4 separate regions of the Homo sapiens genome follow, and all the other regions are linked to region 2. Evidence: promoter capture Hi-C in 16 types of primary human blood cells and fetal thymus (Javierre and others, 2016). All regions are on one chromosome and are shown on one strand. The core of a region is centred on a gene start or on the middle of the fragment in contact, and the rest is flanking DNA. Distances in the headings are between cores, read along the strand shown.

Region 1 (3,276 bases), core at 220-2,719, 540 kb after region 2:
CTTCTGGGTAAATCTGCTTCCACTTAAACACACTAAGGACAATTGAGGGCAGGCAGAGGCTTGGGTCACTGTTCCCTCTTGCTCACATTTTGCCTGGCACAGGTGCAAAATTACGGTACCATCGCATTTGAAAACAGCAGTTACCCCAAGCAGTTATCCCTCAAGGCCCTTTATAAATGTCAAGCTAATTATTAGATGATTAGATAATAGCTACAGTGTGTGCCGTCTGGGTGAGCTGTGGCTGCTGCTACCAAAACACCCTGAGAATGCCAAGTGACATGTTTGGAAAGGATTGGAAGGACTAAGAGTTCCAGGCCTGGACGGTGAAAACAAGCCTGGAGGTGGTCTCCAATGGGGAGATGCCTTAGAGGGAAAGGATGAGGAGGGCAGAGGCTGTGGCAGGTGCAAACATCTTCCCCAGAGAAAGGGCTCAGGTAGCAACAGCCACTTACTGAGCATTTGCTGGGTCAGGCTAAGCTCTTTACATGCATTTTTTCGTTTAACTCAAAACAACCTTTAAATGTGGGAAATTGTATTATTCCTAATTACCAGGTGAAAGTGGAGGCTGGACGGCACACACCACTAGTAAGCGGTGGAAAAGTATTTGAACTTAGAGCTTTCTAAGCCCATGTTTTTAACTCCTGAGCTGCTGGTGAGAGCCCTCTGGGCTAGGAACCCCTCTCTCTCCTGGTCTTTTTCTTTTTTCGAGATGGAGTTTTTGCTCTTTTCGCCCAGGCTGGAGTACAGTGGTGCAATCTCGGTTTATTGCAACCTCCGCCTCCCTGGTTCAAGTGATTGTCCTGCCTCAGCCTCCTGAGTAGCTGGGACTACAGGCGCCCACCACCACGCCTGGCTAACTTTTGTATTTTTAGTAGAGATGGGGTTTCACCCTGTTGGGCAGGATGGTCTTGATCTCCTGACCTTGTGATCTGCCTGCCTTGGCCTCCCAAAGTGCTGGGATTATAGGCATGAGCCACTGCGCCCAGCCTTCTCCTGGTCTTTTTCAGGAATGCATGGGAGGACTCATTCTGGGATCATAAATGACATCCCCCAAATTCTACCCCAGATCTGCCTACAGTCAAGCTTGAGGCCTTGTGGGCCTAGAACCAGGGCATCCTGGACTTCCGATGGGCAGGGCTGTATAGGAAGTTATGCCACCAACGAGGTGGTCCTGGACAGGGGCTGCATTAGGTCCATGATTTGCAAATGTGCTCTGTGGAAACTGAGGAAGTCCATGGAGCTTTTTTGGAAGCGGGGAAGAGCAGGACGGCATCTAATGAAAGGGCTCGGTAGGCAGGGTAAGGAAGCTCCAAGGACCCCCTGCCCCCAAATTCTACCAGAGCAGTCCCACCTTTATATGATGTCACGCTGGCCTTCCTGAAACACTCTTTTTTTTTTTTTTTTTTTTTTTTTTGGAAACGGAGTCTCACTCTGTCACCCAGGCTGGAGTGCAGTGCTGCGATCTTGGCTCACTGCAATCTCTGCCTCCCAGGTTCAAGTGATTCTCCTGCTTCAGCCTCCTGAGTAGCTGGGACTACAGGTGTATGCCACCAGGCCCGGCAAAATTTTGTATTTTTAGTAGGGATGGGGTTTCACCATGTTGGCCAGGCTAGTCTCAAACTCCAGACCTCAAGTGATCCACCTGCCTCAGCCTCCCAAAGTGCTGGGATTACAGGTGTGAGCCACCGCGCCCAGCCCCTGAAAAACTTTTTTTGAACAAAGGGATCTGCACCCCCAAAATGTATGCAGGCCAACCTAGGTCCTTCCAGCCCTGCCCCCACACTGGCTGGTTGGGAGCATTGTTCAAGGTTATGCCAGTAGAGCAGCCCCTCTCTTCCTCGTTAAGGCAGCCTGGTGAAGCTTTGAATCCCTCCTCAGAGCTATATTTTTAAATGCATGAAACAGAAGACATAGGATAACACCAATTACATTGAAATACAGTTATCACAATATTTTTATAGAAGCTAAAATTTTTGATATCACATCACAGATTCTTGTTAACACGACAAACAAGATCTAGTGACAGATCTCGCAACCCCCATAATTCTGAAGCAGTGATTAGCTTAAACAATAATTTCAGATATCGTAACAAATGCAGTGATATGAAATGTAACTTTGATTTCTACTGGCAAGTCGCAGATGCTGCTAAAATGTCTGAGGCCTGTTGACTACATTCAGAAGAGCAGGAGATACTCAATTTCAGTGGAAGGTTAGTGAAAATAAGGATATAAATTTTTTCCCCATTCAAGTTCACAGACCCTTCGAATTCTCTCCACAGCCCCACCGCCCCTGTTGTAAATCCATCAGCACAGTATGCTAGCCATTCGGGTCATTACTGCTAATTATAGCTGTTGTTAGTATTTGCTTCAGGCACAGCTGGCACCATGGCCTGGCTGGTCCCAGCTTCACTCATTCCCTGCTCTCAGTCCTAGTGACTAGCGAGGGAAACGTGTCTGCACAGCTTTTCTCCCTGGATGGAAGCCGAGTGCCTCTGGCCTGGAGCCTGTCCCTCAACCTGTCCCTCCACCAGGGAAAGCTGCAAAAGGGAGTCTGTGGCCTTTCCATCCTGGGTCTGTGGGAGTTCATCAGAGCAGAGGGTGGGCTCCTGACCCAGCCTGTCCTCATGGGAGTGCTGCAAGCTGACACCTAAGAGAGAACTGCCTGATTCCTAGGGTGACCTACCCTGTCAACAGAGGAGGGTGTCTCTGTTGCAAAGGCCTGGGAGGAGGTGGCCGGCAGAGCTTCAGAGAGCCATTCTGGGGTAAGCAGCTTATTTTTCCCTCCCTGCAATGGCTTGTTTTCAGACTCATTCACAGAATGCCCCAGAGGCTATGAGACCAAGGAAAGGGTGACACTTTTCCCCTGCACCTATGGTGGAATGGGCACAGAGGAGAACAAGGCTCGTGTGCCTCCCTACTTCTCAGGAAGGAAACTGCCTGTCATCATTGTTTGCAATTTCTCAGACACCACACAGTGGTGCCAGGTCCCTGTTGGGTGGCCCACCGTTTGAAGGGCTCCTGGCTCAGACTGGAAAATGGAGAAGGCAGGGTAGGGTCGGATGAGCCCAGACAGAGCCAAGAAGGTCAGGGCTGGCAGAGACCTCAGGGGACATGTGACCCTCCTGCCTCATCGCCAGGTGAGGAGCTGGAAGCCGGGTCCCAGTGGGTCAGGCCAGAGCCAAATATCAGCCTTTGTCACCTCTCCTGTGGCCTGATCAGTCAGTGCCTTACAGCCTCTCTGGTGGGATCCCTCATCCCTCCTGGTGACGGGGTGGGG
Region 2 (3,062 bases), core at 315-2,814:
ATGTTTAAAACTTCTGGCCAGGCACAGTGGCTCATGCCTGTAATCCCAGCACTTCAGGAGGCCGAGGCGGGCGGATCACGAGGTCAGGAGTTCGAGACCAACCTGGCCAATATGGTGAAACCCCGTCTCTACTAAAAATACAAAAATTAGCCGGGCGTGGTGGTGTGCGCCTGTAATTCCAGCTACTCAGGAGGCAGAGGCAGGAGAATTGCTTGAACCCGGGAGGCGGAGGTTGCAGTGAGCCAAGATCATGCCACTGCACTCGAGCCTGGGCGACAGAGCAAGACTCCGTCTGAAACAAACAAACAAAAAAACTTATCTCCTGGAAAACTCACTTATTAAAAGATAACTAGTCCTTTTGCCTTTGATGCTCAGGTAAACTTCAGACGAACTAAATGAAAATACTTGTGGATTTGGGGATGAGCGGGAGTCAAGTGCTAGAATTTGCTTAGCAGCTTCTCTTCCACCAATAATGACTTTAAACATGTTGCAAACTAGCCCCAAATGCTAACCTACATTTTTAATCTGAGAGGTATGCGTCATCAAATATTTTGGTTTTATCCCGAAAGTCAGCTAACAGAGATGTAAGTACCTGGGCAACTCTAATGGAATGAGAAGCAACATCTTCCATCTTAAGCATTGATAAGGGTTAAGGGAACAGCTGCTCTTTGCAATGAACAAATCTCACTCTCTGAGGCAGAAATTCGCCATATAGAAGACTGAATTTCTTCATCTTTTTGAGAATCATTTCCACTACCCAGAAAAAACATTCAAATGAGTTGTAAATAAAGTCAAGCGCAGTTGAAAAATCCTGTATCCACAGATGTTTCTTAGGAGTGCCTATGCGCTTAGACTCGAGGGCTAGGGGTTTGAAAGCAAAAGGCAGCCCTCTACCAGGGGTGGTCGGGGAAACGGCCTCCAAGAAACGAATTACACGGTGCACTTTAGTTACCTAGGCAGCTGTTTGTCTAGGAAACAGCTTATTGTTTTCATTTGTCATCACCGCGGCTCACTAGGTATCAGGAAGCTCGGCTCCAGCCGCTACCTGGTGACGCTAATGACGTGCGATGTCTCGCAGCTGCCGCAATTAGACAGGCCAAGCCTTCGCCTTTAAGAAGCTGACTCACGTGGATGCTGTGTTGTGTGCGCTCAGCTGAAAGGGGGAGGTGGGTCCCCAGACTGACTACATTGGCCGCCTCGAGAGAAGGGGCAGAGTTAGCCTCTTTGATTGGCTGTACGAGTCCGAGGTGCTGGGTCAGGGGCGGGGCGAGCTGTCGCAAGCCTGCCCTGGGTCTGCGGCTTCTGAGAGGGGTGGGCCGCGAAGCGGAGGGGTGCGGGAGTGGGGGAGGGTGAGCCAGAGAAGGGGCGGGGCCCCGCGAAAAAGGCAGGAGGCCGAGGACAGGGGCGGGGCCTAGAAATAAAGGGCGTTCTGGGCCAACCGGGAGAGCTGACTGCGGGGGGGCGGAGCCACGCCGGGTGACTGACGTTGAGGCCCAACCAGGGAGAGGCGGGGCCAAGGCCAGGGCCTGACTAAACCTGGAGACTCGGGTGGCCGAGGGGCTTCATACCAGCTGAAGAGCGACAAGCCGCTGGCAGCCGCGGATCTCACCGCCGCTCAGGGTGAGTCCCGCGGGAGGGGCTGGACTCGGGGCCGGTGGGGACTGAGGCGCCCGTTCGGGTCGGGCGGCTTCGAGGCACTCGGGAATCGGCCCAGGGTGGGGGGCCCAGGCAGGAAGTGCCTCTTCCTCGCCGCGCTCTTCCCGGGGTCCCAGAGCGGCCGCCCCAGATCCTTCAGGGTGGGCCCCGGCGCTGGGACCGCGGGCGGACGCGCGGGGCTGTTTGCTCTTTGTGAGGCCTGGCGCGGCGGCCGCCGTCGGCCCGCCCCCGCCGCGCAGCCGGGCGACCGGTGCGACAACAGCCGCAACCCCTCCGCGCGGCGCCCGCGCCTCCGCCCCGTTTCCCCGTCGCGTCCTCCGAGGCCCGCCGCCGAGGCCCACGGCGCCCCCTGGGCGGACGGTCTGGCCGCGACCCCCAACCCGCCGCGCCGCGCCGCGGCTGCCCCGCCCCCACCCGTCGCATAGTCGGGGGCGCGCCCGGTCTCCGCCCCGAATCCAAGTCGGAACTTGACCGAGTTGTTTGGGCCGCGATGACCGCACGGCGTGAACCGTCCTGAGCAGGGCCCACGCCCGGCCCAAGCGGCCCAGCCACCGGGCTGGGGCGGTGTCTCCCTTTGCCCCCTCCCCCCCATGAACGTCCGCCTCCCCCGCCCTCCTGCCCAGAGGACCCGGGACTGACAGCGCAGGGTGACGGTTGGGCAGCCCGCCGGGTGTCGGGACCAAGAGAGCCCCCCGGCCACCCGCTCAGCTGTTTCCTGCTCGTGTTTGTTGTGCCGAGGGAGGCCCCGCCGCCACCGCCGCCGCCGCGCTCTGCCGCCCCGGTCCCTCCCGATTGGCCGGCTGGCGTCACGTGGCCTCCATCAGCTGGGCCGGCGGGGGCGCTCGCGGGCCCCACTGCGGCTGCCGGGTGAGCCCACCCGGGGGTCGCCCGGGCCGGCCCAGCTCCGCCAGCTTCGGGCTGCGGCCTTCCCTCCGCTTGCAGTCGGGAGGGTGGGCGTGCCCTTGCAACCCCTTTCCTGTACCTTCTCTGCAGGTAGATGGGACAAATGAGTGTCCGGATCAGCGGGAGTGGGAAATTGAAATACTACAAAGATCTGTTTAATCCTGATACCAACTAATCTCCCTTTCAAGGGAGAGTCTGGGAAGCTGTACAGCTCATTTATTTTTAAACTTTTTCTGTTTACAGAGATCTGTTGGTAATCTGAGGATTTTTATTCTACGTCGTCTTGACAGATGGAAAACCTGAAGTAACTTCGGGCTAACCTTGTGTTTTTGGAAAATTAGTAGACTTGGTGGTGAAGAAACTGGGAGGAGTAGGATATTAGCTAACTTTGCATAGCCACATATAGAGCGTCGCAGCTGCATTCCACCAAAGAGGAACCAAAAGGCCTGTGGTGTTCCCAGGGTACATATTCATGCCAGAAGTGAAGTGCTTTGGTGAATTCG
Region 3 (3,115 bases), core at 321-2,820, 510 kb after region 2:
TTTGTATTAGTCTGTTCTCATGCTGCTAAGAAAGACATACCCACCACTGGGTAATTTTAAAGGAGAGAGGTTTAATTGACTCACAGTTCAGCATGGCTAGGGAGGCCTCAGGAAACTTACAGTCCTGGCGGAAGGGGAAGCAAACACGTCCTTCACAAGGCAGCAGCAAGGAGAAGTGCAGAGCGAAGTGGGGGGAAGGCTCTTTATAAAACCATCAGATCTTGTGAGAACTCATTCACTATCACGAGAACAGCATGGAGGTAACTGCCCCCATGATTAAATTACCCCCTACTGGTCCCTCTCATGACATGTGGGGATTATGGAAACTACAATTCGAGATGAGATTTGGGTGGAGACACAGCCAAACCATATCAGCACTGAGTACTTAGAATATGCCAGACTATGCATATATTTCTTATTTAATCAATAGTCTGAGTTAGATTATTGTTAGTATTATTTCCCCTATTTTACTGAAGAGGAATAAAGACTCAGAGGGAAGTGATTTGCTAAAGTACACTATGTTGGATGGTGCTGTGTTAATTTGGTTAAGCTGGGGGCTATACTCCCAGAATTCTTTTCCCTGTATGGCTCCACGTTATAGGAGCCATATAGAATTGGCCAAACAGCAACTGGTAAGAGATTTGGAAGACAGAAGTGAAGCAGAGGCCATTACTCTCTGAAAATTGTCGTGGTTGCATATGGTGTGAAACAGATGCAAACGTGTCTGGCAGGTCCCAGCTTGTCCTCGCTCTTTTCTGCTTCCCATCTAGCTTGTCACCCTGACTTCTGGCGTTCCTGACTAATAAAGGCTCTAGACCCTCAACCAGAAGATTGACTGTGGACCGGCAGAGAAGGTAACTAGATGAAGGCATCAGTTTTCCATAGACCTCTCCATGAACTTCCCCTTTGTTGTCCCACCCCAGTGGCTGGAGAAATGCAAGGGTGCAAGTCATGTTTTTGGTATATATTGTGACATGGGAGCACCTCCAGAAGAAAATTTGGTTTTATAAAGACTCAAATATAAAGAGATTTTGGCATCTTGGTAGCCAAAGCTCCAGGGCCAACACTTTATACAGGCATGGTATCCCCATACCATAGGAAAAAAAACCCTCTGTGGAAGTCCAGCCCTCTGGACACTCAGTGTGGAAGTCTCCGGAACAGTAGGAAAATGGATTCCCCCAGGCCAAGACTGGAAGATGGAAGTCAGGCACACAAAGTGCTGACGAGGCTGGTGTGGAATCCCAAGAGTCACAGCCTAAGGCATATTCTGCAGCCCCCAGGTCAAGCAGATGGGTACCAGGGGCTCCAGGTTCCTCTACAGCACCCTGGGAAGGGACAAGTCACAGCAGCCATTGTCTCCTTAGAGCTAGAAGACTTCCAGGAACCAAGGGAAGAATCAATGCATCATTCCCTCAACTCAGGACTCAAGACCCAATTTAATCACTTTGAGCTCAGCATGGTGCAGAGTTTGCCACAAAGAAGTGGTTCAGCTATGTATTAAGGAGGCAGAATTCAAGACTTGAGCAAGTCAGTTAATCCTGCTGAGCTTCAGCTTCTTGACCTGCAAAATGGGGAAACGACACCCACTTCCCAGGGTGAATTATTGAAAAGGGTCAATGTGGGCATGGCTTGGAAGCCCTCTATGAATGGAAGGGCTGAGCAAAGTTCCTTCATAAGTAGAGGGTGTCAGGAGATAGGATAAAGAACTGGATGGGGAATCAGGACCCTTGCTGTCCAGTCTAGGCACTGGCTCTTGCCATCAGCATGACCTTGAGGCTCTGATCATTGGAGGGAGGCAGAGGTCAGCACTAAAGGGTGTCTAATCTCTCGCTGCTCTCCCAGGCCAGGTTCCCACACCCTAAATCTCACAAACCCCTCTTCTATCAAGGTGGAAGTCGATGAGACATGAGAAGACATGCTTGAGACATGATGAGATGTGAACTTTCATGTTTCCAGGAGTGGAAGGAGGGCTCCATTGTTGGGTTGAAGGAAAGACGAGGCTGGGGGATTTTCCTTCTCATGTAGCAAATACTTGGAACCCAGGAGCCCTTTGGTGTAGGGGCAACTGTGGGACTCCTGTGCTCCTGCAGATCTTCCTCTTTGTTATGTTTTGAGGTTGGCTTTTCCATCCCCCTCTCTTTCTTCTTTCTTTTCCCCAACCACTCTATCATACACTACATCTTTCATATGTGTCTCTTAGTGTTCTCTTCTTCCTCCTCTTTGTCTTTTTCCTCCATCATCATTATTAGCAAAAATGAGAGCTGATGGTAAAACTGGTGCCCAGGGAGGGCAAGTGACTCATCCAAGGCCACATAACAGCAACTCTTATTGAGCTCCTACTGTGTACCAGGCACCCTGTCCCTTGGGACTGTCATGCCACTCCTGGCTGGGAGAGTATTTATTCCTATCCTGAACATTCATAGACAGAACCGTGGAGGCAGGGTGAAGGGAGACTTCCAAAGGCCACCCAGGACACTGAGAGCAAATGCTCACAGAGAACTTCTAATCAGCACCTTATAAACTAGAGAAGTTAGGGATTTAGTGATGGAAAAGATAGGGGCAAGGGGTAAGTTGGATCAGTGGGCATGAACTCACTCCACAGTAGAGCCTGAAAAGGAAAGAGGGAGGGAAAATAAAAGGCTACTTTCCATGATCAATAATAAAATTGTAGAAGCCATTCTGCCATATGATCAATGAAGCTCAAACTCTGAATGCCCCTGGAAAGCAGGTGTTGGCTCTTTCAGAAAGGAATGGTTCATTTCATTTGAGGTCCCTACGTCATTTAACAGTCACCCCTTGGTATCATTCCAGAGAAATGTATTGTCCTGGTTCAACTAAATTTCCTTCCTAGACACTGAAAAGTGGCACCTGGCAAAGAATATGCAAACAGCAGGAAGGTGGGGAGGGATGTCCCTGACTCCCTAGGCTCGTGAAATGACCATGGGTGGCATGCTGGTCCTCCCTGAACCTCAGTCATACACAACTCTCCATGGGGAACAGACTCCATGTCACCCTGCTTTTCAGAGGGTACGGGGATCATACTGAAAAGCACTTGGTCTCCCTCAGATGTGAATGTTCCATGGGGTTAGTCATTCCAACTGAGTGCTTATGCAAA
Region 4 (3,405 bases), core at 403-2,902, 570 kb after region 2:
AGTCACTCAAGGCAATTCCTACATATATAAATGTTGAAACTCACAGCCTCAGAAGTCTGAGATGAACAGAGGTAAACAATTCTGATGGCGTTGGGCAACTAAACATTTCCACTGGGAATGGATTTCACGTGGCTGGGCTGTATCGCCAATACTCCTACCAGCACCTGTGGCCCCAGTCTTCTTCCTTCTGTTTTAGTCTTCCTATTTCTGTCGTATCCTCTGTCTCTCCCATCTAATTTGTCTGTATTGCTCCTGGCCATGCCTCATCTATCTGTTCCTCGTCTGTCTAAAGTTTCCTCCCTTCCTCAGGTCCCCATTTCCATCTTTTTGTCTTTCTATCTCTCCTTCCATTTTCGTCCTCTCTGTGCTGGCTGTTGTCTCTTGGCACCTGGCAGCTTTTACACCACTTTCTATATTCTCTCCTATTTGGCAGGGGCTGGAAGCCTGAGAAATACCCTTGCCAGGACAGATCCAGGTACATTTTAAGTCCCACCCTTGAGATACATGTGGGTGACATTTGGAAGGCAGAAGAGAGGCAGAAGGCATATGATTCTGCCTCCAGCAAGTTGTGCAGTCAGGTGGGTTTCAGCAGATGTGAGGTTTTGTCTTGCAAGTCACTGGTGTTAGGCTGCAGGAGGTCAGGACCATTACTGGCAGCTCCCTGTAGTGTCTGGCTTGGGTAGCAGTAGCAGCTTCTTGGTTCTCTTAAGGCTAGTGGTGAGCCTGGGAGTCAGTGGTGACCTTCCTGGCCTTTGCTCCTTTAACCAATCCAACAGCTTTTTAAGTGCCTCATTCCTTAGACTAGATCCCTTCCTTCTTGAAATACCTTGAGTGGTTTTTTTTGTTTTTTTTTTTTTTTCCTGACTAGACCTGGCTGATACACTTTGCTCCTTCCTCACCATTTAAACTCTTTCGCTAGTCTGTATGCACATGTAGCTGCTGTCTGGAACCCAGCTGCCCTGGAGTGAGTGTGTGTGTGCACACGTGCTGTCAGATGGCTACCTCACTGGGGTAACCCCCAGCTCCAGGGAAGCAGATCAGTCCTTTCCTCTGCTCTACCGGGCACCAGCCTAAAGTCTAGTTGCTGGAGAGGCCACAGTAACCGAATCAGGGGACTTATGCTTCAATCTTGTATCTGTCACTTCTTTTTTTTTTTTTTTATACTTTAAGTTCTAGGGTACATGTGCACAACGTGCAGGTTTGTTACATATGTATACATGTGCCATGTTGGTGTGCTGCACCCGTTAACTCATCATTTACATTAGGTATATCTCCTAATGCTATCCCTCCCTGCTCTCCCCACCCCATGACAGGCCCCAGTGTGTGATGTTCCCCATCCTGTGTCCAAGTGTTCTCATTGTTCAATTCCCACCTATGAGTGAGAACATGCGGTGTTTGGTTTTCTGTCCTCGTGGTAGTTTGCTGAGAATGATGGTTTCCAGCTTCATCCATGTCCCTACAAAGGACATGAACTCATCCTTTTTTTATGGCTGCATAGTATTCCATGGTGTATATGTACCAAATTTTCTTAATCCAGTCTATCATTGGTGGACATTTGGGTTGGTTCCAAGTCTTTACTATTGTGAATAGTGCCGCAATAAACATACATGTGCATGTGTCTTTATAGCAGCATGATGTATAATCCTTTGGGTATATGCCCAGTAATGGGATGGCTGGGTCAAATGGTATTTCTAGTTCTAGATCCTTGAGGAATCACCACACTGTCTTCCACAATGGTTGAACTAGTTTACAGTCCCACCAACAGTGTAAAAGTGTTCCTATTTCTCCACATCCTCTCCAGCACCTGTTGTTTCCTGACTTTTTAATGATCACCATTCTAACTGGTGTGAGATGGTATCTCATTGTGGTTTTGATTTGCGTTTCTCTGATGGCCAGTGATGGTGAGCATTTTTTCATGTGTCTGTTGGCTGCATAAATGTCTTCTTTTGAGAAGTGTCTGTTCATATCCTTTGCCCACTTTTTGATGGGGTTGTTTGATTTTTTTCTTGTAAATTTGTTTAAGTTCTTTGTAGATTCTGGATATTAGCCCTTTGTCATATGAGATTGTAAAATTTTTCTCCCATTCTGTAGGTTGCCTGTTCACTCTGATGGTACTTTCTTTTGCTGTGTAGAAGCTCTTTAGTTTAATTAGATCCCATTTGTCAATTTTGGCTTTTGTTGCCATTGCTTTTGGTGTTTTAGTCATGAAGTCCTTGCCAACTATGTCCTGAATGTTATTGCCTAGGTTTTCTTCCAGGGTTTTTGTGGTTTTAGGTCGAACATGCAAGTCTTTAATCCATCTTGAATTAGTTTTTGTATAAGGTGTAAGGAAGGGATCCAGTTTCAGCTTTCTACATATGGCTAGCCAGTTCTCCCAGCACCATTTATTAAATAGGGAATCCTTTCCCCATTGCTTGTTTTTGTTAGGTTTGTCAAAGATCAGATGGTTGTAGATGTGTGGTATTATTTCTGAGGGCTCTGTTCTGTTCCATTGGTCTATATCTCTGTTTTGGTACCAGTACCATGCTGTTTTGGTTACTGTAGCCTTGTAGTATAGTTTGAAGTCAGGTAGCGTGATGCCTCCAGCTTTGTTCTTTTGGCTGAGGATTGTCTTGGCAATGTGGGCTCTTTTTGGTTCCATATGAACTTTAAAATACTTTTTCCCAATTCTGCGAAGAAAGTCATTGGTAGCTTGATGGGGAGGGCATTGAATCTATAAATTACCTTGGGCAGTATGGCCATTTTCACAATTGATTCTTCTTATCCATGAGCATGGAATGTTCTTCCCTTGTTTGTGTCCTCTTTTATTTCGTTGAGCAGTGATTTGTAGTTTTCCTTGAAGAGGTCCTTCACGTCCCTTGTAAGTTGGATTCCTAGGTATTTTATTCTCTTTGAAGTAATTGTGAATGGGAGTTCACTCATGATTTGGCTCTCTGTTTGTCTGTTATTGGTGTATAAGAATGCTTGTGATTTTTGCACATTGATTTTGTATCCTGAGACTTTGCTGAAGTTGCTTATCAGCTGAAGGAGATTTTGGGCTGAGATGATGGGGTTTTCTAAATATACAATCATGTCATCTGCAAATCAGGACAATTTGACTTCCTCTTTTCCTAATTGAATACCCTTTATTTCTTTCTCCTGCCTGATTGTCCTGGCCAGAACTTCCAACACTATGTTGAATAGGAGTGGTGAGAGAGGGCATCCCTGTCTTGTGCCAGTTTTCAAAGGGAATACTTCCACTTTTTGCCCATTTAGTATGATATTGGCTGTGGGTTTGTCATAAATAGCTCTTATTATTTTGAGATACGTCCCATCAATACCTAGTTTATTGAGAGTTTTTAGCATGAAGTGCTGTTGAATTTTGTCAAAGGCCTTTTCTGCATCTATTGAGATAATCCTGTGGTT

The links. The method cuts DNA at HindIII sites, captures the fragments that hold promoters and counts their contacts. A CHiCAGO score of 5 or more calls a contact.
Region 1: a contact is called between a fragment that was not itself captured here and the fragment with the promoter of YPEL5 in region 2, in 7 of 17 cell types (naive B cells, total B cells, activated CD4 T cells and 4 more). The highest score is 8.0, in naive B cells.
Region 3: a contact is called between a fragment that was not itself captured here and the fragment with the promoter of YPEL5 in region 2, in 2 of 17 cell types (activated CD4 T cells and non-activated CD4 T cells). The highest score is 5.6, in activated CD4 T cells.
Region 4: a fragment that was not itself captured here is called in contact with the fragment with the promoter of YPEL5 in region 2 in 8 of 17 cell types (activated CD4 T cells, total CD4 T cells, naive CD4 T cells and 5 more); the score reaches 11.1 in activated CD4 T cells.

What each region holds. Positions count from the first base shown.
Region 1 is chr2:30,686,617-30,689,892 of GRCh38, forward strand. No RefSeq gene overlaps it. Among named protein-coding and RNA genes, the nearest start is that of CAPN13, 120 kb to the right of the region's middle. The HindIII fragment of the contact is 777 bases long and covers 1,082-1,858 here.
Region 2 is chr2:30,145,443-30,148,504 of GRCh38, forward strand. YPEL5 (yippee like 5) reads left to right here and starts at 1,565. Exons shown (of 3, transcript NM_016061.3): 1 at 1,565-1,620. RefSeq lists silencers at 1,169-1,748, 1,779-1,948, 2,239-2,678. The HindIII fragment of the contact is 10,963 bases long and covers 1-3,062 here.
Region 3 is chr2:30,657,656-30,660,770 of GRCh38, forward strand. No RefSeq gene overlaps it. Among named protein-coding and RNA genes, the nearest start is that of CAPN13, 150 kb to the right of the region's middle. The HindIII fragment of the contact is 3,392 bases long and covers 1-3,115 here.
Region 4 is chr2:30,716,800-30,720,204 of GRCh38, forward strand. No RefSeq gene overlaps it. Among named protein-coding and RNA genes, the nearest start is that of CAPN13, 89 kb to the right of the region's middle. The HindIII fragment of the contact is 3,711 bases long and covers 1-3,405 here.